Linked DNA regions of Homo sapiens: region 1 is linked to region 2. The links are contacts of gene promoters, found by promoter capture Hi-C in human tissues and cell types (Jung and others, 2019). All regions are on one chromosome and are shown on one strand. Each heading gives the region's core, a stretch centred on a gene start or on the middle of the fragment in contact. The rest is flanking DNA. Distances are from core to core; before and after follow the strand shown. Region 1 overlaps HIBADH (3-hydroxyisobutyrate dehydrogenase). Region 2 holds the start of HOXA13 (homeobox A13).

Region 1 (3,000 bases), core at 289-2,788, 450 kb before region 2:
TCTTTGAAATAGTTTTTATACCTGTCTTTTCCTGTGGCTACCACACTTTATTAATTTTGACTTTGTTATGGACTGAAATTTTATGTCCCCACAAAATTTATATGTTGAATTCCTTTTTTTTTCTTTTTTGAGACGGAGTCTCGCTCTGTCACCCAGGCTGGAGTGCAGTGGTGCGATCTTGGCTCGCTGCATCCTCCACCCCCTATGTTCAAGCAATCCTCCTGCCTCACCCTCCTGAGTAACTGGGATTACAAGCACATGCCACCATGCCTGGATAATTTTTGTATTTTTAGTAAAGACTGGGTTTCACCATGTTGGCCAGGTTGGTCTCAAACTCCTGACCTCAGGTGATCCACCCACTTTGGCCTCCCAAAGTGCTGGGATTACAGGCGTGAGCCGCTGCGCCTGGCCAAAATTCCTAACCCTCAATATAATGATATTAGGAGCTAGGCCCTTTGGGAGGCAATTAGATCATGCGGATAGAGCTCCTGTGAATAGGATTAGTGCTGTTGTACAGAGAGACATGAGAGTGGCTTCTCTTTCTGCTCTCTACCATGTGAGGATACAGTGAGAAAATGGCCATCAGCAAACGAGGAAGTGGACCTACCAGACACTGGATCTGCTGTCACCTTCATGTTGGACTTCCTGGCCTCCAGAACTGTGAGAAATAAGTGTTCGTTATTTAAGCCATTATGGTATATTTGTTATAGTAGCTCAAACTAAGGCATCTAGAGGATTACTGTCACTTTTATATTGGTCTTCTTGCCTCCAGGCTCTTTTCTTCAAGTTCATTCATTGTACACTGCTGCCTCATTTCTGTTCCTAAAGTGTAAGTCTCATCTGTCATTTCTCTTGCCCACTGTTTCAATAACTACCTCTTGCCTACAAAATACAAGTTGTTTAGCATCCTTCTATCCTTCCACATTATGGTTGCATTTTTTTTTTAATCTTAATCTCTTGCTGTTTTGTTTCTTTGTGCATTCTTTAGGAAGAATAGAGGGCAGTATCATACAATGTTTACAAGTGGAGACTCTAGAATTAGAATGTCTGGATTTGAATCTTGGCATTACAACTTAGTAAAGTATTAGGTATTTTACTTCAACTCAGCATCAGGGTTCTCAGCTGTAAGATGGGCTTCATATATAGCATATGGTAATAGGTCTGTTTATAAAGTGCTTAGCATAGTGTCTGGCATGTAGTAAAATTGCAGTAAATATTAACTATTACTGTCATTTCTTCATGGCTCTTCTAGTTCCTTGTATATATTCATGTTCCTTTTTCTGTATGGAGTTCCCCTCCTCCTTACCCTCCTATCCATTTGAAATCCTACCCCTTGTATAATATCCAGGTCAGATGCCACATTCCTCAAGTTCCCACACCATGAATTCTCATTTTTCATCAGCATTGTGTTTTTATCTTTAACTGTCTTATGTTAGTGTTTATGTACATGGTTTATTTCTTCTTGGTTTTAAGCTTGTTGAAGGCAAGGACTGTGTCTCTTACCTTCTTTGGCATCTCTTTTGGTACATGTGATAGTTGCTTAGTGTTTGTTGAATTTGTGAATGAATTGTGGTTCTACGTGACCATACTTATGAATTGTTTGACCTAGAGTGAATTGCCTGTTAAATTAACTGTCTTTAAATTATAATCTTCCTAGTTGCTGAAGTTTTTAGATTGCTAAATTACACCTTTTCAACCTTAACACAGTAATGCCACATTTTCTTTCTGGCTATTATTGCTAGTTTGTTTATGAGCATTAGTTAGAGTTCTCTGATGAAGTGTACTCATTCTGTTTAATATCAAAATAAAATTTCAGTTTGGTGTCACTTTTCTGTCATTGAATTCCTTGCAGGCCAGAAAGACAAACTATACCAGTGTACTATTATACCAGTGTACTATTATACCAGTGTATTAAACTTAGCGCCTGTTAAATGATGTTGCACAGAAATGACACCCACATTTAATGGAAGTGTTAGAGTCAGTCATTAAGTTAAAGGAATTAAATATGCTTCCAACCCAAGAAGACCTCTAGTTCTTAAGCATTAGGGCTTCAAATAATTTGCTTTTAACAAATCTCATTCCATTCAGATTCAGTTCAGGGAAGAGCAGATTAAGTTCAGTTGAGGGGACCTGAAACTTAAAAGAGGGACTGTGATTAGTTGTTGCACTACAAATTTTAAAGCTGGAGTTCTTGAAAGAAAAAAGAAAAAGAATGCTGGGAAATGGAAGAGCAAGGAGAGTTACTTCTCTCTTTTCCCTCACTAGACTGTGAGCTTTTAAAGGACAGGGACCATACGTTGCTTGTGTCTGTCTCTGAGCTCTGTCATAGTACTTCATGCAGTGAATATTTATTGAGTGGAGTTCTAAATCTAGAAAGTGAAAAATTGCATCTAACGCTATTTCCATAGTACTGTAAAGCCTCCCCACTCTGTAACGCATTACTTTGATTCATATGCCCACGGAGTAATTTCAAAAAGTCTTATATGAAAAATAAAAGAATAAATAAAACCTGTGTAGTTTTTAAGGCTTTTTTTTTTTTTTTTTTAATGGCAGCCTGGTCAACATGGTGAAACTCTGTCTCTATTAAAAGGACAAAAATTAGCCAGGCATGGTGGTGCGTGTCTGTGATCCCAGCTACACCGGAGGCTAAGGCATGAGAATTGCTTGAACCCAATAGGCAGAGGCTTCAGTGAGCCGAGATTGCATTACTGCCCTCCAATCTGGGTGACAGAGTGAGACTCCGTCTCAAAAAATAAATAAATAAATAAATAAATAAATAAATAAATAAATAAATAAAAATATAATAAGGAAGTCTCTCTTTTCTGAAAGTTCAGAGTTGTTAGACCAAGGTCCTGATACTGTTACACTTGCCATTTAAAGCCTATGGAGGTATCTCCCCTTTCTACCCCAGGACCACCTTTATAAACTGGTGATTCCATTCTCCTGGGTTTAACATCTTTTTGAGTTTTTTTTTTTTTGTATCATTGGAGGGGATGGTTT
Region 2 (3,296 bases), core at 697-3,196:
TCACTGTGAGTTTTACAATGCCACTTGGAGGGAGGAAGGGGGGTGGTGAAACGGCCAGAAAGTAACAGAAAAATCAAGTCCCTACAGAGGCTAGTTCCTGAGTCTGCAAATGGCCAGTCAGGGAGAAGGTAAACTGGGGGCAAATCAATATTTACCCAGAACTGCTAAAAAGTCAAGAAGGAAAGGGCACACTTGGTGGGGGGGTGGCTGGTGTGGGGGTCATAGAAGGTTTTATTGGGCGACACTTACATTGGTCAGGACAAATCCAGGATCAGGACAGATAAAAGCCCAAGCCCAGCCACATTGGTCTGGATCCTGCAGGAAGCCCAGGGGCCTTAGACAGCAGATGGTGGGGTGTGTGTGAGGGGTGGTATGCGTGCTGCTCTGAGTTTAGGGCTGAGTGTGCAAGCTAGGAGCAGAGGACAGGTCCAAGCCTGGCTTCTCACCAGTCCGCCTGGGGTGGAAAAGAATCCAGCACTCTCCCCAGCACTATTCCGGTAATGTGCCCACTTTCACTTTGAACGCTTGTTCCTCTTCTAGGCATCTGACCAGCTCACAGTAGTGAATCAGGAAGTGGAAGTATGTGGCTCTAAAGCAGCAGGACCCCCAGAACCCCTCGACAAAACATGGCAGCTACAAGACGGGTCGCTGCTTGGTTCTTCAGCACCAACACCCTACCATGCTCCCAAGAAAAGGTTGCATTTCCCAGGCACAGAGGAAAGGCTTCTTGGACTGGTTCTTGGGCAAAGAAGGACTAGGCACCCTCTGCAGGCTGGAGATCCTACTTGAGGGGAAGGCAGGAAGTGGCCCCAAAGAGCCCCTTTTTCTTGTCCCAAAATAGAGTGAAATAGCGGGTTCCCAGATTCCTGGAGAGTCAGGTCCGGTCCACAAAGAAGCGTGGCTTTAGGGCCCAGAAGGGGGGTTTAAGTCCCAGCCAGAAGCACAGCTGGGGCTTGTTCCTCTTAAGCCCCTTCCAGAACTAAGCCAGCCATACTGGCGAGGTGGGAGCATGGATGAATGGTGCACAGGGATCGCTCGCTCTATCTCAAAGTCTCTGGAGGAGGAAGCGTTGTTACCAGGTCAGAGCAAGGATCAGGCTGTATACCTAAGTGTGCGAATGTGAGTGTGTCAGTGTACACTGTGTGTGTGTGTGATGAGTCGTTCTGAGTCTATGGGTCTAAATGCAAACATATGAAATTGCTCACTAACAGTGTGGACAGGGAAGGGATAGGGGCTCCTAAATGCAGTCCAAGCCTCCAGTGGAATGTCCTGGGACCCAGGCATATCCGCAGGAACCGATAAGCAGCAAACACCCTGCCACTGTTTCCCTGGAAAGAGCAAAATCGCAACTCCATCGAAGCCGAAGGCGCCGATGTCCGTCCTGTGGTCTCACTGCAGAAATACGCGCCGGTTCCTGGAAAGAAAACAGTCCCAGAGGCTCCAAGAAACACCCATTCTGAGCTAGGCTGGTCCCGTCCTCCCCACTCTCCCATCCCTGACCGCCGGCAGAATTACCTGACCTGTCCCCACTGCTCCAGATCGCAACCCAATCGCGCGCCCACCTCCCCTCCCCGCCTGGTTGCGCGGGTCTGGGCCCCACTGGGATAAAGGAAGGGAAGGGGGGCGGAGATGGGGCCGCCTTCCTTCCCTGCCCCACCCGCACGTTCCTCCGCCTCTCCCCCGGGTGAATGGTGCGCGGCCGCGCGGCTGGCGCTGGGGACGGCGCGGGCCGCGGCGGGGACGACGGGTGCACCGTGCAGAGCTGGAGTCGGAGCCGCCCGCTTTGCATACGCCGTGGGCGGAGCGGGGGGGCCGGGCCAATGGGCGGCCGCCTGGCGCGACCCCGCGGGGCGCGATCCGCCCCCCTCGCTCGGGCCCCGGCCCCGCGCCGCGCGCTCTTCACTTCTTGGGGGCTTTTTAAAACAGCGCCACTGGGGTCTTCTCCATGCGGCTCGGGCTATGACAGCCTCCGTGCTCCTCCACCCCCGCTGGATCGAGCCCACCGTCATGTTTCTCTACGACAACGGCGGCGGCCTGGTGGCCGACGAGCTCAACAAGAACATGGAAGGGGCGGCGGCGGCTGCAGCAGCGGCTGCAGCGGCGGCGGCTGCCGGGGCCGGGGGCGGGGGCTTCCCCCACCCGGCGGCTGCGGCGGCAGGGGGCAACTTCTCGGTGGCGGCGGCGGCCGCGGCTGCGGCGGCGGCCGCGGCCAACCAGTGCCGCAACCTGATGGCGCACCCGGCGCCCTTGGCGCCAGGAGCCGCGTCCGCCTACAGCAGCGCCCCCGGGGAGGCGCCCCCGTCGGCTGCCGCCGCTGCTGCCGCGGCTGCCGCTGCAGCCGCCGCCGCCGCCGCCGCGTCGTCCTCGGGAGGTCCCGGCCCGGCGGGCCCGGCGGGCGCAGAGGCCGCCAAGCAATGCAGCCCCTGCTCGGCAGCGGCGCAGAGCTCGTCGGGGCCCGCGGCGCTGCCCTATGGCTACTTCGGCAGCGGCTACTACCCGTGCGCCCGCATGGGCCCGCACCCCAACGCCATCAAGTCGTGCGCGCAGCCCGCCTCGGCCGCCGCCGCCGCCGCCTTCGCGGACAAGTACATGGATACCGCCGGCCCAGCTGCCGAGGAGTTCAGCTCCCGCGCTAAGGAGTTCGCCTTCTACCACCAGGGCTACGCAGCCGGGCCTTACCACCACCATCAGCCCATGCCTGGCTACCTGGATATGCCAGTGGTGCCGGGCCTCGGGGGCCCCGGCGAGTCGCGCCACGAACCCTTGGGTCTTCCCATGGAAAGCTACCAGCCCTGGGCGCTGCCCAACGGCTGGAACGGCCAAATGTACTGCCCCAAAGAGCAGGCGCAGCCTCCCCACCTCTGGAAGTCCACTCTGCCCGGTAAATGACGACCTATTCCCAGCCCTGGTCTTCCGGCTCTGCTCCAGCTTCTTCTCCGCTCGCACCCGGGCGATCCCGGGTGCGTTTCTGTTCTCTTCCTGGTCTGCCCTAGCGGCTCTGCACCCCTGGGAGCCCGAGCATGGCTGGCTGGGTCTGCCTGCACTGCCTCGAGTTGAGCTGGTCCCTGGCTCTCCCTGGGTGAGGGGTGGCTTGTGGAGACCTCGGCTAGCTTCCCTCTCCCTCTGCGCCCCGCCCTCCCCAGCCCCTGACACCAATTTAAGGATGAGAAATTGACCAGAAAACAGCTCCCCAAATTGCCCCTCCCTATTCATTCTCTCAAAAATGGCTTCAGTGTAGAAGCTTCGAGTATTGGGACGGGCACCCAGAAAGGAGGCAGGCACAGAAGTGTTGTACC

Evidence for each region. Contacts are between HindIII fragments. The study calls those that stand out against the background at their distance.
Region 1: a contact is called between a fragment that was not itself captured here and the fragment with the promoter of HOXA13 in region 2, in 1 of the 25 tissues and cell types used here (mesendoderm cells).

What each region holds. Positions count from the first base shown.
Region 1 is chr7:27,650,258-27,653,257 of GRCh38, reverse strand. All of the region lies in intron 1 of HIBADH (3-hydroxyisobutyrate dehydrogenase), which reads left to right. It overlaps LOC105375211 (a long non-coding RNA gene), which reads right to left. Exons shown (of 3, transcript XR_007060268.1): 2 at 608-658. Among named protein-coding and RNA genes, the nearest start is that of HIBADH, 11 kb to the left of the region's middle. The HindIII fragment of the contact is 6,446 bases long and covers 1-3,000 here.
Region 2 is chr7:27,198,741-27,202,036 of GRCh38, reverse strand. HOXA13 (homeobox A13) reads left to right here and starts at 1,946. Exons shown (of 2, transcript NM_000522.5): 1 at 1,946-2,881. The coding sequence starts at 1,960. HOTTIP (HOXA distal transcript antisense RNA) reads right to left here and starts at 1,616. Exons shown (of 3, transcript NR_037843.3): 1 at 1,516-1,616; 2 at 1-1,414. The HindIII fragment of the contact is 6,019 bases long and covers 1,293-3,296 here.